6 separate regions of the Homo sapiens genome follow, and regions 2, 3, 4, 5 and 6 are each linked to region 1. The links are contacts of gene promoters, found by promoter capture Hi-C in blood cells and fetal thymus (Javierre and others, 2016). All regions are on one chromosome and are shown on one strand. The core of a region is centred on a gene start or on the middle of the fragment in contact, and the rest is flanking DNA. Distances in the headings are between cores, read along the strand shown.

Evidence for each region. Contacts are between HindIII fragments. The CHiCAGO score rates a contact against its expected background, and 5 or more counts as called.
Region 2: a fragment that was not itself captured here is called in contact with the fragment with the promoter of PCDH9 in region 1 in 1 of 17 cell types (activated CD4 T cells); the score reaches 5.4 in activated CD4 T cells.
Region 3: a fragment that was not itself captured here is called in contact with the fragment with the promoter of PCDH9 in region 1 in 1 of 17 cell types (M2 macrophages); the score reaches 7.8 in M2 macrophages.
Region 4: a contact is called between a fragment that was not itself captured here and the fragment with the promoter of PCDH9 in region 1, in 1 of 17 cell types (M2 macrophages). The highest score is 6.2, in M2 macrophages.
Region 5: a fragment that was not itself captured here is called in contact with the fragment with the promoter of PCDH9 in region 1 in 1 of 17 cell types (M2 macrophages); the score reaches 7.7 in M2 macrophages.
Region 6: a fragment that was not itself captured here is called in contact with the fragment with the promoter of PCDH9 in region 1 in 3 of 17 cell types (M2 macrophages, M0 macrophages and M1 macrophages); the score reaches 30.4 in M2 macrophages.

The regions. Positions count from the first base shown.
Region 1 is chr13:67,228,112-67,232,674 of GRCh38, forward strand. It overlaps PCDH9 (protocadherin 9), which reads right to left and starts at 2,225. Exons shown (of 5, transcript NM_203487.3): 1 at 1,669-2,225; 2 at 1-464. The coding sequence starts at 329. RefSeq lists a silencer at 2,496-2,635. The HindIII fragment of the contact is 4,939 bases long and covers 1-3,892 here.
Region 2 is chr13:62,306,618-62,311,180 of GRCh38, forward strand. No RefSeq gene overlaps it. Among named protein-coding and RNA genes, the nearest start is that of LINC01074, 12 kb to the right of the region's middle. The HindIII fragment of the contact is 430 bases long and covers 1,725-2,154 here.
Region 3 is chr13:62,498,917-62,503,479 of GRCh38, forward strand. No RefSeq gene overlaps it. Among named protein-coding and RNA genes, the nearest start is that of LINC00459, 180 kb to the left of the region's middle. The HindIII fragment of the contact is 2,164 bases long and covers 1,240-3,403 here.
Region 4 is chr13:62,518,464-62,523,026 of GRCh38, forward strand. No RefSeq gene overlaps it. Among named protein-coding and RNA genes, the nearest start is that of LINC00459, 200 kb to the left of the region's middle. The HindIII fragment of the contact is 6,918 bases long and covers 1-4,563 here.
Region 5 is chr13:63,108,341-63,112,903 of GRCh38, forward strand. No RefSeq gene overlaps it. Among named protein-coding and RNA genes, the nearest start is that of LINC00376, 220 kb to the right of the region's middle. The HindIII fragment of the contact is 4,587 bases long and covers 1-4,194 here.
Region 6 is chr13:63,126,711-63,131,273 of GRCh38, forward strand. No RefSeq gene overlaps it. Among named protein-coding and RNA genes, the nearest start is that of LINC00376, 200 kb to the right of the region's middle. The HindIII fragment of the contact is 674 bases long and covers 1,663-2,336 here.

The sequences.
Region 1 (4,563 bases), core at 975-3,474:
AAACACTCATTCTCCTCAGCATATGAGGCGCCAGCACAGAGTTTTTCTCTGTCTATTCTGTTGGAGGTTGTGAAAATTTCCCCAGTGCTGCTGGAAACTTTCACCAAAGGGGCATCCCCAGCTTTAGAAACCAGTCTGTAGACAAGGCTGGCGCTGGTCCCTGTGGCAGCATTGATGTGAGAAATGTTCAGATCCTTTGGTATGTTTCCTATGGGCACATTTTCAGGCAATTCCTCTCTAATAGTGTAAATAAGTTCTTGAGCTATTGCGGAATCCAGCCTTAAACAGGCAATCAGAGCAGCCAACAGGTAAAAATCCCTCAGGTCCATGATAATGTATTTATTTTCTTTTCCTGGATTTTAGGGTTTAAAGGTTTCCACTGAGGAATGATGCACAAATTGCAAGAGGAAGCGTGCATGGACTGGAGGATGCATTATATCTCATCACTTATTTGGAGACAGCCGCTGTCAACACAATTGTATAGACAATATTATTCTTCAGTAAATAAAAACACACCGTCACAAAATATCACCACACATTTTCCCCTGAACATTAGTAAACATGGCAGTTTGCTCTGCCACTGTTTGCAAGTTTACTCTGTGGAGAAAAACACTAAATATCTCCTGCTGGTTGCATTTGCCGGGAGAAAATAAAATTTTCTACTTTTGAATTAAGGACAGCTGCTATTTTTACCTATATTCACGCACGTTGTTTTTCAGAATACTGTTTAATTCAAAACATGCATTCTTGTTCTCCTCTTCCCCTCCCCCTGTCTCACCCTCCTCCTAGCCTCTAACCTACCTCCCTCAGTCTTTTCAGGTGCAAGTGAAAAACACTAAGTATTTAGCTACGGTTCCTGCTAATTGCTTTGTCACATGTCAAATGTGTTTTCTTCTCTGCCCCACTGAGTCACCTATCTTTTCTAAAAAGGCTATCTTTTTCTTTCCTCCCAGTTCTTCAACTGCCTTCTAATACAATCTTACTGGGAAACGAGCATCCGGACATGCCGCTGCAGCGGCATCAGAAGCAATAGTCACCGGCCTCTACACATCCTCATTGCCTAAAAGCACAACAACAAGACTTCAGATTTCTTGCCCACAGCTTGCTCTCCTTTCTCCATATTGACAAATTATCCTCATTAGGATTCATAAACACATTAAAACTTTTAAAAATGTATAATAATATAGGATTCATTTTCCTAGAGGTGGAAGAGAGTGCCGAGATATAAGTGAAACGCAGCTAACATTCCCATGTAACATCACAATATTTTCTACTGAACATAAAAGAGAAAAAAAATGCAATTTCTTAATCCTGATCTCTGGTTAGAATATTAGTAACATTTGCCACACATAAATACTGCAACCCAATCATGCAGGTAAAAAGGCTTCTGCTTAGATAACTGCAGTTTAAATGGGTGCAAGGCTCCAGGCAGCTACCTACTTGAGTAGGACTGGTCAGTTCTCAGGCTCTAATCTTATCTGCATTAGGCTGCACAGTAGCTGATGCCCGCGATTAGTTCCGGCAGAGTGATGCAGGTAGGGATGCAGATACAGCCGAGTAGGTGAGCTCTGCCCCAACCGTCTACCCAATTACAAGCATCTTTCGCCTACACTGAGGACACATCTAAACACAGAATTTACAATTGTGCATGCGAAACTTTACACTTACGTTAGTTGCCTCAACCTTTCCCCTTTCCCAGTATGCTGCAGTTAGGAATGATTTGTTCCAACACATAGAAAGCCATGCATCTGGTAGCACCAGTTTGGGGAGAAATCAGAAGCAGCAAAATGTTTCCTCCTTGTAAAATGTGTTGCTTCGGGCTGGCAAATTAGCAACTCCAGAGAACAAATTCACGGATTTGTCGTTAGTCATTCTCTCCACATTTCGTCTCTCTTACCCACTGGGTCTGGGTTCTTCTGGGCATTTAGCACACACAACACATAGTTGCACTTCTTCAGCTCAGGGATATTTTCCACAGCAGCATGCATACCATTTCCATCCGATGCCAATACTGCTTAAGTCTCTAACTTCTTGTAGGAAACGTCAGAGTTGCGGTGATGATGATTCTCTGACAGCTATCCGGGTGACAGTTGCCCGAAAAATTCCTAATCGGTTATCTCTTGCGTGCTTCAGAGACTCTGAGGCGCTCCTTTCCGTCTCGCGTGCTCTCCCTCTCTCCCTTCCCCTCTGCCCCTCTCTCCTTCTCCCTCTCCTCTCTCTGAACTGAATTTCTTGATATAACTCTCAATAAGCCCAGAGGGAGGGCGTGACTGCCCAGGCCCCGCCCCCGGGCTCTGATTGGCCTGCATCTTGCGGCGCGGGCGGCCGCAGCCCGGCGCGAGGGAGGGAGCGCGGAACAAGGCGCTGACTGTCTCCCAGCCTCCCCTCCTCCGCGCCCCCTCGGCAGCAGCGAAAACCCGGAAATCTGATCCTGGCCCCAGGAGAGCCGGGTTCCATGAGGTGCACTGAGCATGCTCTGCAGGGTCCGGCGTGGGAGGGACGCGCTGGCGCTCCCCAGGCCCGGGCGGAAGCGGCGCTCGCAGGCGCTGAAAGCGAGCGACCCTCTGAGCCCGGGTGGTCCGGCGGGCAAGGGCGGCGCGGGAGACCCGCAGGGCGCGGGCGCGGATCCGGGGAACCAGGGCCACCGCTGCGGGCGGATGGGGGTCACCGAGGCGGCTCGTCTCCAGGCGCACACTTCGCACATCTCTTTGCTAAGTGAAGGGGCCAAAATGCACAGATGGGGGAGTCTACCCAGGAACAGAGGCGCGAGACGTATAGCCACCCCTGGGTTGGGAGCACGAGCCAGCAGATCCCCGGAGCGCGTTAAACGGACAACATGCCCGGTGCTGCAAATAGAGGCTTTTGCTGGCAGGGACATTGGAAAGAAGGGCGGAGAGGGAGTACAGCGAAAGGTGGGGACCGCAGAATTTGGAATCTCTGCGGAGACCGGAAAGAAAATTAATCGGAGCACTTCCTACATGCAGAGCCACGGAAACTGCCTTGGAAAGAGAAAGTGGCAGCGTCTGGGTCCCCTCGGTCAGCCCGGGCCAGTCGGCTGCGCGTGCGAAGTCTCCTCTAGCGGAGCGGGACCGGCCGCGGCGGTGGATCGTGGCGGTCCCTGCACTTCTGCTCCAGCCGCGCCTGGAAACCTGAGCCCGGACTCGCGGCTGCTGCAAAACCCGCTTCCAGCCCACCTCACTGCGAACTTTGCTTCCGAGGGGCTGGAAGGAGTCCCAGGCAGCTGTTTCCCAAGCTGTGGAACACTTCCTTTCCCCTAGGCACTTTCTGCTGATTCCAACTTTCTTTCCTGTGATTTTCGTCTTTTCCCGTGCATTTCATTTCTCCGACTCCAGCTCTGTACTAAATCCTCACAAGTTTCTCGTTTTCATACGGGAACTGGATGGAATGACTCCCCAAAAAATACAGCTTTATTTCTCAAATACTGACCCCCAAAGCACTATCTAGTAATATATTTGATTGATCTTTCAAAGTCAGTAAACCACAAAGGTTTGTGTAATGGCTTGTACTTAACGCCTGATACCTGAGTAAAGTTTGAAGCATTAACATAGGAACAGTTCACTTGGAACAAAAATTTATTTTCTGAATGACCTATAAAGGTTGTCAGAGAAGGTCTTAGTACATGATTGAATAACTTGGTCTAACTTACAGGAAGAATAAAGGGCATTTATTTTAAACCTGTGTGTTCCCCATTCTATAATGGGCTGCCTAGGCATTAAAGGCTCTTGACATACTTAAGCTCTTGACTGAGGGCGTGTTGGAGATTACCCCTTGTTTTTGAGTACAATAGTTTTGTTTGCTTTTTTTCTTTTTTAAGTAACATTTGTTTTTAGACGTTTAAATGAAAAGTAAAAAAAAAAAAAAACACCAATCAAGCTTACTAAGCCATATATTGAATAAATAATGACATGATTTAACCAACTAATTTGACATCACAATTTTCCAACATGAAATTGTAAGCTCTTTTTAATTCAAACTTTTCTGAGTTAATATTCACAGTTCAACTGCAGTGTCTAAAAGCCCACTGTAAAATCCATTAATCCCTTATATGTAAAATATAAAATACTTTCCTTGCAGATAATAGACTGATATTTTTTAAATAGCAAAGCAACTTTTATTATAGTAATATTTTGTATGATTAGAATATATAAAATTCAAGAATAGAAAGGACTTACAAGTATCCCAAAGTGAAAAGAAAAATATTGCCTCACAGAATAATGTCAGTGAATGAAAGGATGATTCTTTTATCTTACCACAGTAAACGATCATTTTGCCATTCACAAAATCTACAATTAAAGCTAGTACATTGTTCCAATTGTCACCTATTTTATGCACTGCACTGTTTTTAAATAAATGAACCATCATTGTGATACATTTACAATAAACATAGCAGCACAGCCACTTTCCAGTTCATTTCATAAGCACCACAGTTATATCATATTCTTATTCTAATCATACCGTAGTCATTTCAAAGTCATGTTGTAGTCGCAACACATAGCTTAGCAATAATTATTTAACATCATTATTAAACGGAGTTGTTTCTCT
Region 2 (4,563 bases), core at 690-3,189, 4.9 Mb before region 1:
CTGACATCACTGATATCATGTCTAGACATCTTTAGTTGCCTTTCCTAAGTGGTTCACCTCTATCAGTCTGGTCCAGCAAAGTCCATTCCCCATCTGACTACCTTAATGAGCTTTTGAAAATGTAAAGTGGCTCATGTTATTCTTCTCAATGTTCAACGATGGATTTCCATTAAACTTAATATAAAGGGGCTTTTGTGTATAAGCTCTTTTACAATCTGGCTCTTGCCTATCTCAAGAAACATTATTTTAATTGAGTCTCCTTTCTCACTCATTATGCTTTAGTGCAGAAGTGGATATTTTGAGGCCTATAGATGTTGAGAGACAATTTTCAATGTCTCTTATGTTTCCAGACATCTTGCAAACAGAGACAACAACTGTCCATTCTAGTTAATTTTCTTAAGTATAAGTTTATATAGTGAGTAACTTTGGAAGACAGAGTTAGTATCCCTTCAGAGCTAAGGGTCTGCTTAAAGCCTTGGAAGACAAAGATGACATCTATACCTAGACCAAAATGGCAGATGTGTTTTGCCATCATAAAAATAATTATAAAATTATTCTAAAATAATAGGTTCTTCCTTTTCTATAATGCAATCCACACATATGCAGGTGTCAGCTGGCTCTGCCTTGGTCAGTGGGGAATGAGACTGGAAGAACCAACACAAATGCTGATAACCTGGCCACCACTGTTATGTGAGTAATAAACTGTCCATTTTCTCTGACACAGGAATCTCACATCTTTTTCCAGAATTGATGAAACTGTTGAAGAATAACTTGTTAGATTGCAAGTAGGGTAAAATCTTAGGCCCTCCACAGTTCTTGACAATGGAAAGGAGTATTATATAGTCTTGATAGTAATCCCTGTGTGTTTGTTTTTTGCAAAACTATTTGCCAATATTGAAAAATGTGGAGATTATGTGTAAATATTTAGATCTAAGTTCTTCTTTAAAAATCATAATTTCAACCTAACCTGGACCTTCTTTCCATCACTTGAGTTGGGTAGAGACTCTAATCTTTATATGAAATGTGCATTCTCAATTCACCAGAGACATGTCACCATCTTGTTACCTTAATACTGAGATCCACTGTCATTTGACATTTATCATTGAGCTTGCCCTGCTGTTTTTGGTATTGCCAAGTTGAAGGAGAAAACAAAAGATAGACCCAAAGGACCAGTGTGTATCACAAAAATTAGGACAGAGCATATTTCTTTCTGATAGTAAAACATATTCCTATGTGTTTTATATGCAATCACAGAGTGTCCCTGTGGGAATAATACAATTAAGATTCCATTAATATGCAAATGAAGTGTATATGGTTGAAAAAAATACAACTAAAGACACTGACATTGTTCTATTTAACTCATGTACCTAACTTGACTGGCTCTAATAAGCATTCGAGTTACAGACTTTGCTGCAGCCCAAATGGCCTGCTCAGAGTTCCTAAAACAAGCCAAGGACAGTCCTACTTAGTGCCCTTTCATGCTTGTCCATCTGCCAGGGGTGCATTTTCTGTGGATCTTCACAAGGCCTGCTTCATTTTATCCTCCAAATCTCAGTTTAAATATCATCTCAGAGAGGTTGTCTCCAAACATCTTTTCTAATTAGATTTGCCTTAGTTATTTTCTACTATGGCACATTTTCATGATCTTAATATAAATTTTCTAAATTTCTAGTTTCATATTGATTTATTTATGTATTTAATCTCTATTTTATGACTAGACTATAAGCTTCTTGAGGAAAGAGACCCTAGGTTTTTATATCTAGTGTATAGCAAAGCATATGACTATAGTGAATTTAATATTAGAGGAGTAAACAAAAAAAATTCCTAAAATATATTCTGATAGGGTAGTTTGACATGCTGACTCTGTATGTGGTGTACTTCGCCCTGAGAAATTTTATTGACAAGGTACCATTTTGGGTAGTCCTGACCTCTTAAGAATTTTGCTCTTTTGTGAAGTTTGCCCTAACATAAAGTGAAAAGAACTCCCTAGAGTAAAAATACGATGCAGAGTTGGAAAGAGATACACACAATCCACTCTCATGAGTTGGGGAAAATTTGCTGGGGCACACTACTTTTTATAATGTCTCCCAAATATATCATCACACATATCAAGTTAGCAAATGAATAGGATGACTCATGCTATTTGGTTTTATAAGCTTGTGCCTCCATTTTTATTATTTATTTAGTAAATAATTTGATCTTCCATAACTCACTTTGGAAAGCTCCCTTGCTTTATTTTCTTTTAAAGCTTATTTATTTATTTATGTATTTATTTATTGAGACTGAGTCTTGCCCTATTGCCCAGGCTGGAGTGCAGTGGAGCAATCTCGGCCCATTGCAACCTCTGCCTCCTGGGTTCAAGCAATTCTCCCTCCTCAGCCTCCCGAGTAGCTGGGATTACAGGCACATGCCACCATGCCCAGCTAATTTTTGTATTTTTTTAGTAGAGATGGGGTTTCACCATGTTGGCCAGGCTGGTCTCAAACTCCTGAGCTTGTGATCCGCCCGCCTCGGACTCCCAAAGTGCTGGGATTACAGGCGTGAGCCACCACGCCCGGCCTTTTAAAGCTTATTTAACATTAACATGGCTCTATTAAATTTTAGATGCGCATATTCTTAGTAAATTTCTTTATCATATTATTATTCTTTCTAAAAGACACATGAATCATGTTTTAAAGAGATGAAGGGGTGGATGTATCATCAAACAATGTAATACATTCACTAACACCTTTTAATGAATGTATACATTATGATATATATTACACAATTTTTTCACTGTATTTTTCACATTAGTTTCACACATTAGAAATGCGATTAAGCTATTATAAGAAAAATCTAGAATTTGATTATACATATACATATATTCGTACATTTATATAATATGAATTTTATAAAAACGCAGGCATGTAATGTAGAAAAACATGGGCAAGATTACTGCACACATTTTTGAATTTCTTCATTCTTTTTTTGAAAATGGCTCTTTCCCCCATCCAATGTGGTTTTAGATGTGAGTTCCATGAAACAATATTATTATAATAAAAACTAGTTAATTTTTTGCTTTTTTGCAGTTGCTCTGTTTTTTATAATTATCTATTTTCTTTAATGAAAATTTATTTTTACCTTTATTTTTTACTAGAGAAAATGATAAAAGAAAGATGAAATAACTAGACCAATTTTATGTAACATGAAAGGAACTGGGATTTGAAAATATATAGTTTGACTTTAGAAACTTTAGATATTATGTTTTCCTGTTTTATTCTCACAGCATTATTCTACTATGTCAGGGATTCTGGAAACAGTTACTGAGATAAACATTTGTGTGCAAAAGTTTAATGGAGAATGTTCTGATAAGCAATGCCTTGTGTGAGGAAATGGAAAAAGTAATATGGGACAGAGGGAGAAGTGAAGCTGCAAAGCTGTTTCAAACAGTTGTTCTCAGCAGCAGTTGATATCCCAGGGAGCTCTTCAGATACAATGAAGGCAAGAGGGACACCTGTTGTACTTCTTTAGATAAACCAACCCTTGGTAGGAAGCTGCCCAACAAAGGGCCCATGACACTGAACACGGCAGCTTCTTGGACCAAGAACAATTCCTGTGAGGGATTCAATTGTGATCCAACAGCAAGTTATATTCCTGACAGCTGAGGAATTAGTGCTTTAGTTCTAAAATACGAAGATCTAGACGGTGCACCCAGAACATCCGCTACAGTTCATCCCTTGCACCATTTGATTTTTAACATAATTTTATTTCATCAGAAAATAGCTTTAGGATTTTTGTTGTAACTTTTGTCTATGCAAACTTTTACGACAGAAAAGCTAATGGGAAAAACTCTAACTCCTGCTACTGCAGCAGCTGGTCTCAGTGCCATTGATCCTCATCATCTCAGTCCTTGGCCATCCATGTTTTATTGCCCTTACCCTTACTTATCACCTTTGCTGGTTTACGTGGCTGATCTTGTAGGTGACAAAGATGTCCATCCCTGTGACACCTGAACCTCTGATCATAATGGCCTGCTTTTATTGTGATTGCTGCATTTGTTTCCAAATTTGGGCAAGAAAGTGCTAAGACATGTCCCAGTGATTTCTTGAGTGCTGGATGCATTTTTCCTTGCTGACATTACATAACAACAACCCCATTTTGATTGCTCCTTCCAGATGGTGAATCATTTCTTGTCTGTTGGTCTCTTAATACAAAGAGCACAAAGTAACTGCATGGCAGCTACAGCTTGCAGTTTAATGAGGGCAATTTGCTTCTGGGATCCATGAGATTAAAATCCACAAAGCCTAAAGTTGCAGTGACAGAAAGCCACTGAGTATTTTAGTTCAAAGGACGGATGTTCGAGACAGACTGGAACACTCACTATAAATAATCTGGCTAAGACTGGTCTTTCCAGAGGTGGGACTACATCCCATGCTGGCCCCACCAGTTTCTTCTTCAGGAAGTTAGGATTTGCTTAGCTCCTTTTTGGGAGGAATTATGAAACTGAACACTATCAGAAGCTGTTTCCCACCATGTGGAACTGAGAGGAACAGACCAGTTTGCAAAAATAGAAAAACATAAATA
Region 3 (4,563 bases), core at 1,072-3,571, 4.7 Mb before region 1:
ACAAACCTTAATTTTCTCATAGAAGTATTTAATCTTTGCTTATCTCATCATTATTCAGCTTTAAGTTAGGTTTTAGTTGATTATGACATGAAAGAAAAATGGAATTTGCTTTCATCCATCCATTCAGTCCTTACTACTTTTGAGCTGAAGTAACTGTTCACATCTGTTGCACATTTTTAATGTGTGCTTGCTTATTATTTATTTGTAAGAGTTCTTTTTACATAAACTGGTATCAATCATTTATTAGGCATATATTTTTCTAACATTTTTCTCCTAGCCTGTAGATTATTTATATTTTCTTAATGTCTTCTGAATAACCAAAGTTTTAATTTTGATGAGGTCTCATTTATAAATTGTAAAAAGTGTTTGCATTTGTTGTTCTGTAAGAAATTTTCTCCTGGCTGAAGGTGGTTGGAATGATAGCCTTCTATTTTTTTCTTCTAGAAGTTTCATAAATGTAGATTTTACATTTAAATTTGTGACTTATTTATTTTTTAATATGTTGTGAGAAATGTGTGAAGGTTTGGGGTGTTTTGCATGAGAAAATCCAATTATTTTAGGCAAAATTTGTTGAAATGTCCATTATTTTCCACTAAATTGGCTTATTGATTTTGTCAACATTCAAATAGCCTTATATGTATGAGTCTATTTTTAGAGTTTCAATGATCTATATATCTTTCCTTTTGACCATGCAATGCTGTTGAATGATGCTAATAGCAAATTTTGAAATCTGGTACTATAGTCATGGCAGTTTTCATTTTTAATATTAATTTTGCTTTGACTTTCCTATAAGCTTGTCAATTAAATTACTTCAGTTTGATATGCCTTCATTGTATTATATATTTTAATTTCTCTGCCAGTTCTACTTAGCTAGAGTTTGTGTTTTCTGATACAGTGAGATAATTTGAATATTAATGATCATTAAAAATATTTTCAAAAATTAGTTTTAATTTCAAACAAAGATAAAGAACTATGTGACAAGATTTATTTTAGGTTGTATGTGTATTATATTAAATATTTTTAAAAAGTTATCCAGGCAGAGATAGCCTCATAAAGACAATAATGAAATATTTTCATGTTTCTTGAAATTCTTCTCAATCTAATGATTTTTAAAGTATGTTTGCATGATCTTCAAATGATATTTGTTTATATCGTCTTTACTAAAGACAGAACTCTATAACAAATGCTCTAGAACATGTTGAAAACACATAGTTCTTTGCATATAAGGCTTTGAATAAAAGCTTTTGTCTTTAAACAATTATATTATTTTAATCATTACCTTATTTCTTAATTATCATGGCTTACCAAAAAAGTCATCGTGATCACATAATCTATAAATATATTACTGGTTAACCATCTCTACTCTAAAAATCTGAAATCTGAAATACTTCAAAATCCAAAACGTTTTGAACATTCACAAGACACCACAAGTAGAAAATTCCGTACCTGACATCATGTTATGAGTTGTGGTTTAAACACAGTTAAAATTTGGTTTCATGCACAAAATTATCAATAATAATGCAAAGATTTCCCTTCAAGTATGTCAATAAGGTATATATGGACATAAATAAATTTTGTGTTTAGACTTGGGTCCTATCCCCAAGAGAGCTGATTATATATATGCAAATATTTTTTAAAAATCAGGAATCTAGGTCTGGGTCCAGTGGCTTGTGCCTGTAAGCTCAGAGCTTTGGGAGGCTCAGGCAGGAGGATCACTTGAAGTTGAGGGTTCAAGACCAGCATGGGCAATGTATTGAGACTGTCTCTAAAAAATAAATATAAACAATAAAAAAATCCAGAATCCAAAACACTTCTGGTCACAGCATTTTGAACAAGAGATATTCAACGTGTTTGTATCTATATGTATATCTGTTTGTATGTGCGCGTGCGTGTGTGTATGACATAAAGAATGACCTTAACTTGAGTATCACCAATGTCTATGCTTGTAGTCTTTCTTCCCTTTAAAGCACATGATGAAAAAATATAATTGTGTGCATATAATTATAATGCCATAGCTTCAATGGGAACTAAGAACATAAGATGAAAATTAGATTTAAGATCTGGAAGAAATAAAAATTAATAGTTTTAGTTTATTATGAGTGTCAATATTTGAAATTGTAATTAAGTATTTTCCCAACTATTCTTCAGTTGATTAAGATTTTATACAAGTGAAACAGAACATAAGGCATAAACATGACTTGAAGTTAGTTGTTTGAAATTAACTCCAAAGGGAATATAGATTTAAGAACAAAACTTTACATTTGGCAAGATCAGAAGAGAGAGGATCAGTAGGAGTTGTATGTCAGATTGGTCACTTGAGATTTGAGTATACCATTAGCAAAACTGCTGAAAGCTCACCTTGCTGAAAAAATAAATTATTTTCAGAACTACCAGCCTTGTTAAAAGCAACATTTGGAACTGACTAATCCCTGGGGTAGGAGTGCTGCTTTATAGTTTAGAAGATGCTTTTCCATCAAAGAATAATTATACCAATTTGCTCAACTTCTCCTTTAATAAGAAAAGAAGGAAATAAAATAAATAAGAAAAAAATTTAAAAATCTTGAAGAAAGATCGAATTAAGTGCTTGAATTTGAAATCAAGTGCCATTTTATCTGTGATACATGACTGCTATTTTGCATAAATTGTGACACTTAAACATTTGTTCTTGTATTAAAAATACTTTGAATTTCATGATACTTCTCCTCACAATTGTACTAACACAATCATCAGTTCTAAACATGACAGAATATTGCTCATGTGGCCAAAAGAAAATGTATATTAATTGTAACGATTTTCAACATTTCTGTATCTTTTTTGGTCCAAATTTATTTTTAGAACTTTAAGTCCCATGTGCAACATTATGGGTATTACTACTTCCTATCTTAACTGAAAGTTCCCATTCAGTTGCCTGAGCTTCTCATGTCTCACCAGGATCAAATATACCTAAGGAGGAACCTCTCAATTCAGATGCCACATCTTATATGTGGGGAGATGAGTACAACCAGGCGATGATATTAATATTTGTTATGAATATTACTGATTATAAAAATACTCACTAATTGATTTTATTTTTTGTTGTTTTAGACAATGTACAAGCACCTTCTCTGTTAAAAGAGTATTAGATTAAAAGTGAAACCTACAGCCCAGGCCCATAAGGCCCATTTCATTCTTCTCTATGAGTTTAATAATTTTCCATTCCTTCAAGATGGAGTAAAGTACAACAGACTCATATTTCCTCCTATGGTTATACACTGCAGCATTTTCACTTAACATTTTGCCACATCATTTGTAATAAAATTTTATTTTTGTTCAACAGTAAAAATGTCACCATGTTTTTTTTTTTTCTTAAATATAAAGAGTCATGTTTTAAGTGAGATATGCTGGTAACTAATTCCTCACTAAAAGCTTTGTCATAATTTGATCTTTTCATTTCTTAGATATTCCTCATTGTCTAGGTTACTTCTGAATACATGCACACACACTTGTGTGTGTGTATGCACAAGTGAATGAATGTATATATGTACATATATATCTCAAGATAATTTCTACTTCATAGTCATCCTTCCCAATTGGATATAATAGGATAAGTTAGTTAAGGTCATTTACCAATCATTTATAAGATTAGAAATAATTTCAAACTTAGAAATCCCATCTGGCATAACACCATTTGATCAGACATAAACCAACTACTTCCCTTATTCCATTCCATACATCCCGGTCAACCGTGAACCATCAATAACTTCTTTTTGAGTACCACATTTTGATGACTTTTACATCAAGCCAACAATAGCATGACCTAAACCATATTTTGCTGGCTTGTAGATGAGTATGCCATGTGGGACAGAGTTAAAAGACTTCCTGGGGTCAAGCTCGATTACACTTACTGTAGATTGAAAGAATCAAGGCCATTATTCTGTCATAGTAGAAAATACATTTGGTTTGACAATGATTTGTTTTCAAGTCATGCTATTTATAACTGAGCACTTTGTGATCTTCAGAGGGTTTGAAAATTGGCCCTTGAATGATAACCTACAGAACCTTTCCCCATTAACGTTACAGTAGCTAGTCTATAGTATACAACACTATTTTTTTCCTTTGAAAGGTAGTTTATTTTTGTTGTTAAAACTTGTGAAGATGGTAGTCAAAATGTGAATTTACATTGGTGACTAAGTGTACAAGTATGTTTTTTATAATAAAATGAGTACATATCAATTTCTAATATGGTAAGATAAATAAATATTTTTACTTATATTAGTTCTTACATTTTAATAAAGTAAAATAAAGTCATTTTTTCTACTTTTAAAATTGTCCACAAAACTATTAATTAAACAGTTTGTGTGATATAATTTGTCAGCTTTCAAGGTGATGCAAGTATTAAATCATATACTTCTGTAAACTATGAGCTGATTATTTTATAATCGCCAGCAGAACACGAGATCCTAATTTTTAAATCTGTCCTTGCAGTTTGAAGGTTACCTACAAACTTGATTAGAACTGTCAGGCCTCATGGCATCTATTATATATTGTTCCTGTTAAGGTTGCTTATGAAACTATTAGCCTTTT
Region 4 (4,563 bases), core at 1,285-3,784, 4.7 Mb before region 1:
AGTGGAGGTTGCAGTGAGCTGAGATCACACCACTGCACTCCGGCCGAGGTGACATAGTAAGACTCCATCTCAAAAAAAAAATTAAAGTATTTGACATGTCTGTTAGAGATCTAAAGCGGGTTTTTTGTTTGTTTGTTTGTTTGTTTTGAGGCAGGATCTCACTCTGTTGCCCAGGCTGGAGTGCAGTGGTGTCATCAATGGTCACTGCAACCTCCATGTCTTGTGCTCAAGCAATCCTCCTGCCTCAGCCTCCCAAACAGCTAGGACCACAGGTGCACAGCACCACATCAACTCATTTTTGTATTTTCTTTTTTTTTTGGTATGGGGTTTCGTCATGTTGCCCAGGCTGGTCTTGAACTCCTGGGGTCAAGCAGTCTACTTGTCTCACCCTCCCAAGGTGTTGGAATTACAGGTGTAAACCACCGCACCCAACTGAAGAAAGGGCATTAATATTTAATAATGCTTTCAATAAAGAAAAATTAGATTACTTTCTGAGTCATTTGGCACACCTACCTATCAGCTTTTTCCCGACTTTTCTTCCTTACTTCAACATTGTTGTTATTCAGTCAGTCAATAAATGTTTATTAATTGCCTGCTCTTTGTTACACACTGTGTGAGAAAAAGGACAGAGAAGTTTATGCCACAGAAAAGAGATATTAAAGAATACACACAAAAATTAAGTACACGATGGCTGTCAGAAACCATGAAGGGTCTGAGATTTTACTGTACTTTTGACCTAGTAATTTCCCCTGTCAGAGTTTCCTGAATCCTGGTAGAAGGTGTGAGACTTCTGGGTAAAGGAAAAATTACTATTATTTACAGCACAGCAGGCAACATGAGCATCCTGTTCACAGCAGTTCTCCCTACTCAATCACACCCACATCTCATAGGGTTTATGCAAATATGGTCCCAATTAGATGCTACACAAACAGTGGGTTTGCTGTATACCTGAGGAACCTGGAGATTATGAAGTCCAGGACATTTTTATTTATTTATCTTTATTCAAATCATAAACACATTTTTTTAAAAAACAGCTCTATTTAAAATATAATTTATGTTTCAAACAATTGATCTATTTAAAGTGAACAGTTAGTTTTTTTTATATGTTACAGCTTTATGTAATCACCATCACAATCAATTTTAGAACATTTTTATCACCCTCTACATAAACCTTATACCCTTCAGTAAGTACTCCCCATTAACCAACTCTCTTCCCACAACCCTAGGCAACCACCAATCTACTTTTTGTCTCTACAGATTTTACAGTATTTGGCATTTCATGTAAGTAAAAATCATAAAATACACGTCTTTTTATGACTAGCTTGTTTCTCTTAACATAATGTTTTCTAGGTTCATTATGTTGAAGAGGCCACAATTTTATATAAGGGGTATCTGGCAACCTGTCCCACCTTAGCAAGGAGAGGGATATTATCTAAATTACATTGGTAAGAAAAACTGTCTGCCCTCTCTTTCAGTGGAAGAGCCTATTCATCTTCCAAGGCTGTTTGCTTTGCACACATCCTGAAAAGATAGTCTACGATAAAGTTGTTATGAAGATGTATAGAAACTCTGGAGAATTGCTCCTCAATCATCATCCCTAAACAAAATGCTGAGAAAGAAAATGGCAAGCTGCTGTGGAAATACATAAGAAGGAAACAAACCATCTGAGCATCCTTGGAGGCTTCCTCAGGAAGATACTTTTTAAACTGGGACCTCAGAAAAAGATGATTGAATTAAGAAGTAAAAACACAAGAGAAAAAGATAATTTTAGGCAGTAGCCTCAAACGTTTTTATTTCTTTATCTTTACTCAGGTCATAAACAATCTTTAAAAAATAATAGCTTTGTTTATGTAAAGAGCATGCATAAAGGTGAAGAGGCAGAAGATGACAAGATGCATGTGGCTGGAAAATAAAGCAGGAATGACAGAATGTCATGAAGTGAGACTAGTGTGGCAGGGAGATGATAGATTATGCAAGACTTTGTAGGTAATAAGGGCTTCCAAATTCATTCCAAAATAGTGAAACACAATTGAAGGAATTTAAGCAAGAGAGTAAAATTGTCAGTTTTCTTTTGTAAGGAACTTCTCTGCTGTGTGGAGCCTGGTTGGAGGGGGGCAAAAATGGATTCAGGTAATCAGTTTAAAAAGTGTATACAATAAATCAGATGAAACATGTAAGTAATTTGAAAGAGGGATGATCAGAGGAATATCTAGACTAATTGGGGTAGGTGGTGGAAAGGGAAGTGTTGAAGGAGGTGATATCATGAACAACTGAATGAATCATGATACCATCTACTGATCTATAAATATTGGCAAGTCTGAAGAAAGGATAATTAGTTAATCTTTAGGCAAATTACATTTGAAGTTATCTGTAGCTGTGTTAGTCCGGGTTCTCCAGAAAAACAGAATCAAGTGAAGTATATACAAAAATCAAGAGATTTATTATGAGGAATTGGCTTACACAATTATGGAGGCTGCTAAGTCCTAAGATCTATAATCAGCAAGCTGGAGATCCAGGACTGCTGATTGTGTAATTTCAAACCCAGGGCTGGCAGGCTTGAGACTGGGGAAGAATCAGTGTTTCAGTTTGAGTCTCAAGGCAAGAAAAGTCAGGGTCTCAGTTCAGACAGGAGGAATGTTCTCTTATTCAGGGCAGGGTCAGTCTTACTTCATACCGGCCTTCAGCTGACGGGATAAGGCCCATTCCCATAGGGAGGGTAATCTGCTTTACATTGTCTATCAGTGTAAATGTTAAAGTCTCACAGAAACATTTAAAATAAGGTTTGCAGAAATATCCCAGTACCTAACTGCTCAGTCAAATTGACACATGAAATTAACCATCACAGTAGCTAAATGAATGAAACAGTTGGATACACAGTTTTCCATAAGAAAATTTTAAAAGAAAACTGAAAAGAGAAAAAGAGAATTTTAGGCCAGAGAATTTTGGAAGTTTTTTTTGTTTGTTTGTTTTTTGTTTTTCTCAGTCTTGTTCCTCCCTATAATCTAAGTTGTTTTATGTCTTTCCCACTGCAAAATCTTCCTCATCCATACATATACAAAAGTGATCTACTTTGTCCAACTAGTTATGCATTTTGGCTGGGATGGAAAATACGAGAATGGAAATAAAAGAATACATCAAGAAGGTTGTGAAGCATATGGGTAGGATTACTGAAAGAAGTGCAAGGTATGTACAAAATACAAGGGAGAGAGGATAGGGATTGGTACAAATGAAAAGAGATGTGGCTGGGCACAGGGGCCCATGCCTGTCATCCCATCACTTTGGGAGGTCGAGGAGGGCGGATCACAAGGTCAGGAGTTCGAGACCAGTCTGGTCAACATAGTGAAACCCCGTCTCTACTAAAAATACAAAAAAATTAGCAAAGTGTGGTGGTGTGCACCTGTAATCCCAGCTACTCTGGTGGCTGAGGCAGGAAAATTGGGTGAACCCAGGAGGCAGAGGTTGCAGTGAGCCGAGATTGCACCATTGCTCATTGCATTCCAGCCCGGGCGACAGTGCGAGACTCCATCTCAAAAAACAAACAAAAAAAAGATGCATTTTATAAAATTGTGAAGAAAATGATGTAGAAAGAGCTACAATGTACAAAACTTTTTAACAGAAAGATATGTCATATATATGCAAAATGAAAGGGAATTCAGTTTTGTTTGAAACTATATTAAATTGCTTGCATTGTCTTATTATCCCAGGCTGAACATTTTAGTCACAGTGTTTTTTCCTTGAATATTTTATCTACATATCAAAATGTAATTATAGAACTAGATTATATCACATATGAAAAATACTATGTAGAGTAAAAATAGAAGGAAGTCTAAGTCTAAACACAGAAGAATAAAAAAGAAATAAATATTTGACAGAGGAGGAAAAAACAGTGAAATATGAGAACGTGTAGAGAGAAGGAAACAAGAAACTCAGAGGACTGTGGATAGGAGGCAATTCAAAAAAGTGTTTCAAAGTTCCATCATCGAGTCTCAACTTATTAACAAAACTTTTTTTGAACGCTCTCTTCCTTGTCCTTTTGTCTGCTCAATGTTTGTCTTAACTTTTCAGAAATCAGGTTTATTCTTACTTTCTCAGCATACACATTCAAAAGCCTTTGCTACCTTTTTTTCTACAATATCACACTTTTACAGTCACTTTCTATTTAGCCATAATTTAAACTTTTTAAGAAGGTGAATGTTTATTCTAAAAATATTACTATGTTCCTTGGTGTCCACCTAAAGCTCTAAGGTTCCCTGAAAGATTTGGAGGTAATAATATCCTGAAAGACCCATGGAGCTAAGGAGTCAGAGGTGTAGGTCATTAAATTCCAATTCTGCCTTTGACCTATAATATGGCCTCAGACATTACCTAGGTGCCTTGATTTCTTTCTATGAAAAATAAGATAATTGTACCTACCACATAGACTATTGTGTCTTCAAAGAGGCGATATTTAATAGGTAGTGACAGATTTTAAAAGAGAAAATCAAAGAGATAGTATAGTTTGGCATTTATTGAATGCCTTTTTGTTTTATTTGTTTTTTGAAATGGAGCCTTGTTCTGTTGCCA
Region 5 (4,563 bases), core at 651-3,150, 4.1 Mb before region 1:
TTCGTTTTTTCTTTGCAAACTTCATAGAAAAAAATATTCCTTAAAAAACAGAAATATATATGCACTCTTATACTAAACACTACTTGGAAAATATTTTTAGTTCTTTTAAAACAATTAATAAATAATACTTGAGTTTTAGCTTTATGTTCACCTACTAAAGACATATGATTTCTTTAAATTCCAGAATGTGCCAGTATGTGTGTTTTGTTTCACAATATATTTACATTTTATAGCTAAGTGTCTTAGATCAGTTATTAGATTGCATTTAGATTATGGCTTTATGAGTCTATTCATTTTTTTATTTTCTGAATTTTCTGGTGGCTAAAACTTTTATATTTATATCACTGTCACATACATGAATAATACAGTTTTTATAGACAGAATTTTGTATAGACTTTTCTCAGTAATGTAGAATTTGTTGACTGAAGATAAATCTGGTTATGATGTGGAACAAAGAGTATTTTTCTACACTGTCTAAACAGGTTAGACAACACATAAGGTGATATAGGCATTGTCAAAATGGAATATGTATGTAAAGCAATGAAACTATTCTAATCTGTAATACATAAAAAAGTTGAATGTAATTCAAAATGTTTGCAGTTGTATTTAGAATAGTGATACTACATAACTGTGGTATATTGGTGTGTGGACCTACATTTTATACTGTACATATTTTTAATGACAAGCATTTGTTTTTCTGAATTGCTCCCACCTTTTCTACTAGCATTTAATATAATGGAAGGAACACAAGAAATAAAGTAGTCCAGGCCGGGCGCGGTGGCTCACGCCTGTAATCCCAGCACTTTGGAAGGCCGAGGCGGGCGGATCACGAGGTCAGGAGATCGAGACCATCCTGGCTAATACGGTGAAACCCCGTCTCTACTAAAAATACAAAAAATTAGCTGCACGTGGTGGCGGGCGCCTGTAGTCCCAGCTACTCGGGAGGCTGAGGCAGGAGAATGGCGTGAACCCGCGAGGCGGAGCTTGCAGTGAGCCGAGATCGCCCCACTGGGCGACAGAGTGATATTTTGTCAAAGGAAGGGAGGAAGGGAGGAAGGGAGGAAGGGAGGGAGGGAGGGAGGGAGTCCAAATGTCTTGTTTATTTTCTTGCCATTGAATTCCCTGGACCTCAGTTTTATTATCCATAAACATGACATACTAATAAAAGTCATCATGACAATCTTGGCTTCTGTGAGTACCATATATGCATGTGATAGCCCTAAAGTACTCCAATTATAATTCCCATAAAAGGAAGAGACTACTGGCTAAGTGAAGAATTCAAAAATAATTATGTTGCAAATATGTCAACAAATTGTGAAAAAGGAGAGGAAGAGGGAGAAATGTTTAACCTGTTTAGGGATAGAGCAATCTATTTTAAAGTGAATTATCCTAGATTATGTTTAATAACTTATTTTTTCATTTGCCAAAAATTATTCAGTATAAATATGACTTGTCAGAAAGAGAGTTTAGAGCCAAGAGGATCAGAGTGAATTATTGACAGTCAAAAACTGAGTGTGGATATTTACTTGCCTTTAGCTTATTTTTTCATAGACAAACTGAGCTATTTTAAGGTTGTGAGTTGAGATGGACAAATAAATTAGATATGTAATTGAACAAGTAATACATATTGAGAAATGTATTCTACAGGAGAAATGAACTTGCCAGTATAATAAAATAAAAAATGTTTGGTGAAAAAGAAATACTATCACCATCAATTTGACCAGTTTAACATAAATTAAACATAGTTTGGTATGTGGGAACCCTTACTTAAATCCTCACCTGTTTTTCCTATGGGCAATTTTTCATTTTCTTTCTTTTATTGTCTCATTAATTTCCATTATTATTTTAAATATTGCTGTGAATAGTGAAAAATAGATATTAAAAATGTCTCAAATTGAGAGTCAAAAAGGGAAGAGCAACTAGAAACAGAGAATTGAGTCAATCAGCTCTCATTCCATTTATTGCCTCAGTTTTTTTATCTTGTCTTTATTAATTATTTTTTATGGCTAATTGTACCTTCCCATTATCAACCCTTAGCTTCACTACCAAAAAGAGGACTGTGTTTATTTCTTTTATTTCAAATCTTAGGGGAAATTTTGGTTTGTTTGGCTTGGATGATATATTTGCCCTGTGGCTAGTGGTCAGGGTACTGTAGTTGTAGGATACTAGTCCTTAATTAGCAGCAAATGATACAGAGTCAAAGGGAAGACTGACACAGGTTTCATTGTTTACCCAATCTGTCCAACTCATCTGCTTTCTATCAGGAGGAATAATTATCTAGGATCTTTCAGGCCTTCTCCTGGAATGTAAAATGTATTTATTTTAGAAATTATCGTGTATTTCACAGTCCAAATCTCCTTGAACTAGAGGTTTTCTAGAATGTTGAAGATTAGACATCCTTTTGACATAGTTGAGGTTTTTCTGTAATCACACTACAAGAGATTTTTACCTCATGAAATTTTTTGGTAGAAGGCCTGTGCTAAATAGCCTGTTTAGTCATTATCTATAAAACTAAAATCTCTGCATGTAAAGGCTCTCACATCTGAACCACTAGGTAGAATAGATCTATTTAGCTATCCCAAGGCAGAGGCTAGTCCTGTAGACCTTGGCAATGACTTCCAAGAAGTAACTAAAGGCCAGAGTGCTGGCATGGCTCACCTGCCTGGGAAGTTGCCGTTTTCTTCCATGTTGTGTCTCATTTGAGGACAAATTCTTATTGGGCAAGTATGCAGAGTAATTGGAGATGGGAAAGCCTGTCTATAGTTCTTAAATGTTACAATATTTTCATTCTGATTTGTATAACATATTTAATTTTTAACATATACCCTGAATTTCAACTGGGGGTAATTTAGTAAAAAAAAAATTATATATTATATATATAATTATATATATATATTATATATAATTTTTTACTTAGTTCTTAGTAGGAAATATATATCATATATAAATATATATCATCTTTATATATATAATATATATTTATATATAAGTGGAAATCATATATATAAATATATATCATATATATATTTCTTACTAAGTTTAGTGTGTGTGTGTGTATATATATATATATATATATATAATATAAACATAAATGCTTGGCCATCTAGAATAGGTGAATATAGACATGTTTATAAAACTGCATGTCTTTGTTGATATTGTAAACTCTCTTGTTTTTCTTACAGTAAGTTTAAAAAGTGAGAATATTAATGTTCTCATATTTTGAATTCCCTAAATATCCAATGTTGATGGGCATGAGGTCAAAATAACAAGGGATCAAAACATGGTCAAAGTCCCAAAAGATAATACTAATATTGTAATTTTCCAAAACCTGAAGTTTGCTGATTCTTAGTGCCCTTATCTTATGCTGGCCCAAAATTCCACATTTTAGGTTTAGTAATTATTACTAAATAACATTTAGTAATTTACCATGACATTTTCAGTTATTAACTTCTGTTTTAATTATGCTTAGTTTATCTTAAAAGTGGAAATCATAATACAAAATCTATGTGCAAATCCAGTAGAAAAGGGAAAAATTGTAGTCAGGCGTTGTTGAAAACAGGGAACAGGAATTCTACATGCCCCAGAGCCTCACTATCTTTCTGTGAAAGATTTAAAGTTTACCTTCACCTTTGCCACTGGAGAAAAAAGTGCCATTATTTTCTTGGTTTCAATTTGAGGACTATCTAAAATAGGATGCTTCTTTAGTATCCATTTAACTTCTGACATAATTGTGTCCTTGTAGACTCTTGGTGTTGTTATATTTATTTTTATACAAAATTGCTTTTTAGAGTCTCAAAATGTCATGCCTCAGAAATAATGTGTTTATTAATTGCTAATTATTAATTCTAGTATTAGATTTGCACTAAATTACCACTGTAAACAGAAGATGAGGATGTGATATGTTAACATGGAAATTGGGGTAATTCATTAAGAATTTACTACTTAAAAACAAAAGAAACTTGTTGGTTATATGTTTTATGCTTTCATATACATTGCTTTTTAAGTTAAGGTATGTGTCTTTCCTCTCATGATCTCTGAGTTCCCACCGTCCTGATCTCTTTTATTTTAAAAAGTATTTTTATTAGCTAGTTGACGAACACAGAATTTTTAAAGAGTTCACATTCTAATTTATGAATATTCAATAAAATATATTATATTTCCAAATGCTACTAATCGTTTTAGCAAATTACTTTAAGCTTATTTATACATTTTTAACTGAGAGCAATTTAATAAGCTACTGTTCACATAAACATAAGTTAATGTGCATATGTAAAATTATAAAAGTTGCAACATAACTTTGTTATTTTAAAAAAATAGTTATCTATGTATTTTACAACTCATGTATTTTCATCACCTGATAAAGGCTTATATTATAACAACATCTGAAGATATATAAAAAATAGTGCTAAAATAAAGAACAATTTTGGGGTCCCATTTTGAGGCATTCAAGTTAACATCTCTTTGGAAACCATCAATTATAAGTCATGTAAAGATAGTCATGAATTACCTTGAGTTTCCCTATCTGCAGGATTAGCTATTTTTGGCCTCCCCTCAAAATAATTA
Region 6 (4,563 bases), core at 750-3,249, 4.1 Mb before region 1:
TTCCATTGCTCAGTAAAATTATTCTCTGCTTTCCTCACTCTTAGATTTTCAGCATATTCTCATTCTTCTTGGAGGTGGGGAGGGCAGCTGCCTCATGTGACAGAAAGGGCGGTGTGATCCGAGCCAGTCCCAGGGCCACAGGCCGAGGCAGGGCAAGGGCATTGCCAGCCAGGTGTCTCCAGCTGGCAAAAGTAACAGAGAAATATCCTGCATCAACATAACCTTCTTCCCATTGTCTTACCTCTGTGTTTGTCTGTGTCTGTGTCTAAATCACCCCCCTTTTATTAGGGCGCTTGTCTTATTTGATTGGGACCCATTCTAACAACCTCAAGTTGATTAATTGCAAAGATCTTATTTTAAAATAAATTATGTTCACAGTTTCTAGGTGTTAAGAATTCTACATATTTTGGGGGAGATATAATTCAAATTATAAAACCATTGTCATTGTGCTTCTACAACAAAATACCTGAGACTGGGTAATTTATAAGGAGTAGAAATTTATTTTCTCACAGTTCTGTACATTGGGAAGACCAAGATCAAGGCACCAGGCTGTTCAGTGTCTGGTAAAAGCCTGTTCCTTATAGACGACAATGTCTAGATGTCCTCACATGGTGGAAATGATAAAAGTACAAAAAGGAGAAAGATGTTATGTCCTCTCATGGTGAAAGAGTGAGCAGAAGGGACAAAGAAAGAGAGAGACAGCTCCCAGGAATTTCCATTATAAATGCTAATCCCATTCATGAAGTCTCTGTACTCATGACTTAATCACCTTCTAAAGGTTCCCACCTGTTTCACATTGATGATTAAGTTTAAACGTATGAGTTTTGGAGAACATATTCAGATCACAGAAACCATCTTTAAACAAAGTACTCAGGAAATATTACGTATATATCTAATGGAAGAGTCTACTAAAAATGCAGATTTGATCAAGTTGGTTAATGGTTAATGCCAGATTTTTAAGTAAGAGTAGGACTGAAGAAATTCTGTTAAACCTAGCAGCAAATAACGTTGGTAATGTTAGCAAAAGTTGTTTTAAGAAACATAGTAGATCTAGTAGAACAAATTTTAGTGAGATGATTATGAATTATTAAAATATGGATATTTTATCAGGAATCTTAATTTTGAAAGGAAGATAATATTGTTTTTGCTTAAGATGGGAAAGTCATGTGCAAATTTAAACTGTTACAGGAAAACAAAACAAGTAAAGATGGAATGTATATGTATATGCTATATTTAAAGGGGGAAAAACAACTTACTGAGGATGGTGAGGTGGCATTAAGAAATTTGAATGAAACAGAATTGGATTGATTGGTCTTTCATAGAGTCTTTAAAGAACATGAGAATAATGTTGGCTCATTCCAGTGTTTTGAAGCTATGGTGAACTTCAGTAAAATATCTAATAATTTTTTAGAAATAAATGGTGAAATCAACTTTGAATATAATTTGATTTTGGTAAGAACATGATTGACGAAAATTTTGAAGGTTTGAATTATCACTATGCAGAATGAATGAGATAGCTGAGTAAAAATATAAACATCCAGCAGTAGGTGCCCATTTATTTACAAAGATTGCAGTTGTACACAGTAACCCAAGTACGGAAAGGGAAAGTCACAAAATTAGAATGATGGAGCTTTGGGCTGAAGTGTAGTTATGTAGCTGGTAAGCTTAATGTAGGATGGAAACTCTGTGGTGACAGGTATAAATAAGAAGTGAAAATAGAAGGAAAAAACACGTACTCTCTAATTTAATAATATTAGCCCATTTTACCCTCCGAACATTTCAAAAATTACCTTGAACATATATATGATTTTAATATTTTTTATATAAAAAATGTAGATCTATCCATGTGAACTTTTGATTTTGTCTTAAAGTACCCAAATAATTGAATCAATTATTGACTTACAGATTTAGGTCCGCAAAAATTTATTTAATTTTGAGTTAAATAAAGAAAATAAACAAATTGAGGTTCAGGACTTGTACCTATATTAAACATATTGATAAATATAGAAAATGTGTCTTTCTTTATAAAATGTTAACATATCAGGAAAATATCCAAAAAATTATTGAATAACTCTGTTTCAATCAGTATTTACAGTCACATGGCCACATACAGATATGTATCATTTTTCTAGGACTCTCAGAGTATGTAAAATATACATCATAGTCATAATAGCAAATGGGTCCCGTGGGCAAAAACCAAAAATGTTAATGGGCTCTTGATGTAGAATATTGTTGATGAGTCACTGTGTCTCCATTTAAGCTGAGAGGGTTTCTTTGTTGTTGTTCATTTCTTTTTAATGAAAATGTCAGCAAGCTAGAAGTTCTTAGCTCACAAAAGCTTTTCGCTGAAGGTGAAACTACAAATATCCCAGTTAAATTTGTAATTATGTTTAAGTGTCCAGAGACAAGAACACATGTAGAATAAGGGGCAAACTCATCATTATTGCTTGTGACCTACCCTCACAATAAATACTTGTAGAATTAATTGTGAAATCAAGATATCATTCTCACACCAGGTTGTTCACAGGTCAAGGAAAAAATACAGAGCAGTTGGCTGTAAATGATGAAAAAAATAAAAATTAAATAAATGGAAATGTAAGAAAGAGATAGCTAAATAGGTTTCATTAACTTCAAATAGCAGGAAAGCTGAAGGTGGCTGGGTGTGGTGGCTTATGCCTGCAGTCCCATCACTTTGGGAGGCTGAGGCAGGAGGATCACTTGAGGCCAGGAGTTCGAGAACAGCCTGGCCAACACTGCGAAAACCTGTTTCTACTAAAAATACAAAAATAAGCTGGGCGTGATGGTGGGCACCTGTAATCCCTGATACTCAGGGGGCTGAGGCAGGAGAATCGCTTGAACCCAGGAGGCAGAGGTTGCAGTGAGACAAGATTGTACCACTGCACTCCAGCCTGGGCTGCAGAGCAAGACTCTGTCTCAAAAACATAAATTAATTAATTAAAATAAAAAAGAAAAGAAAAGAAAGAAAGAAAAGCTAAAGCTAATGTTTTTTGGTATGGTGTTTTTCAGAACCAGACACAAAATTTAAAACACATGACCTTTCCACAAGGTAGTATTTCAGTAAGGTGTGCAGAACTCAAAGGAAAATAAAATTTATCTTTTAAAAATACTCAGTTCATGAAATATAAATCCTCCTAGGTTAAATCAATTCATTTTAAAGTATATTCTATAAAACTGTTGGAAATATACAGTTAAGGCAGAGTTACTTCTCTTTGTAGCAGTTATGACTCCTAGTTTAGTAAATTACAAGAAATATAACATAACCCAGATGAAATAAAAAGAGTTATTACAACCTACTTTGAAGCTGTAGAAGTATGGCTGGCTATAATCACAAATGGGACTAGGGTCTGAGTCAATGTTTCTTTGGTTCTCTTGATGAATGGTAACAAAAGGCTGAGGAGTTCTGGGTCTCATTTCTGTAGGCCACTCTACCCTAAACAGATAGAGGCTACTCTTTACAACACAAATCTTATTCTTTGTTCTGATTGAATCATTCTGGGCCTGTCACTATGGTAATGGCTGCTGCAATCACTCCAGTTTTCCTAAACAAGAATAGTTCTCACTCCTAGAGGTAGGGGTAAATTTCATTTCACTTTGGCTCTATTGTGTCCCAAAATAGTAACAAGAGGCAAATTGTTGTGGGGCTATGAGACCAGAGATGAGAAATATTGTGAAGTTTTTATTGACTATTCAAAGAAGTGGGGAGTTGGCAGTGGTGTATCCAGAAGTGTGGAGAGGGGAAGATCTACCTGAGGAGCAGGTTTAAAAAAAGTACATTGACTAGAATTTTGAAACAAAACAAAACAAAAAATAAAGTCAAGTAAAAGTTGCTCTACTCCTTATTATAACCATGTGCTCACAATTCTAAACAATGTCTCTGATAAATTACCCACCCCTAAAACTTCTTCTTTGGTTTATCTAAATTTTATTTTAATATATGTATAATTTCTTTGCAATAAAATGCATATATTCAGGTGTACCGCATGATTAATTTCGACATATACTTTGACATATACACCTACATAATCACTAACTCTCTCATCAACCTATGGACTATTTCCATCAACTCTGAGAGTACTCTTGGACTTCTTTTCTGCTAATTCCCTACCAAACTCCCAGAAACAAATACAGATAGGAGTCAGTTAGCACAGAGAAGTGTTGCCTGTTATTCAAATTCATGTTAATGGGATCACACAGTGTGTCTTCTTTTGTGTCTGGTTTCTTGTGCTGCATATAATAATGTTCAGTATTAGTATTTATTCTCTTGATTGCTGAGTAATACCCCACTGCATGAATACAGCATAATATGTTCACCCGTCTTCTCTTCATGGAAATTTGCTTTCAACCCCAGTTTTTTTTTCTATTATGAATAAAGCTGTTATGAGCCTTTTTGTAGATATTCTTTCAGTTTTTTTGAGCAAGAAAAAATAGATAGTATAATTGCTTGGCCATAAGGTAGGTTTATTTTCAATGTATAAAAAAATTGTCCAGAGTTTTTCAAAGTAATTTTATAGTCAACTTCCTTGAACATTATATGAGAGTTCC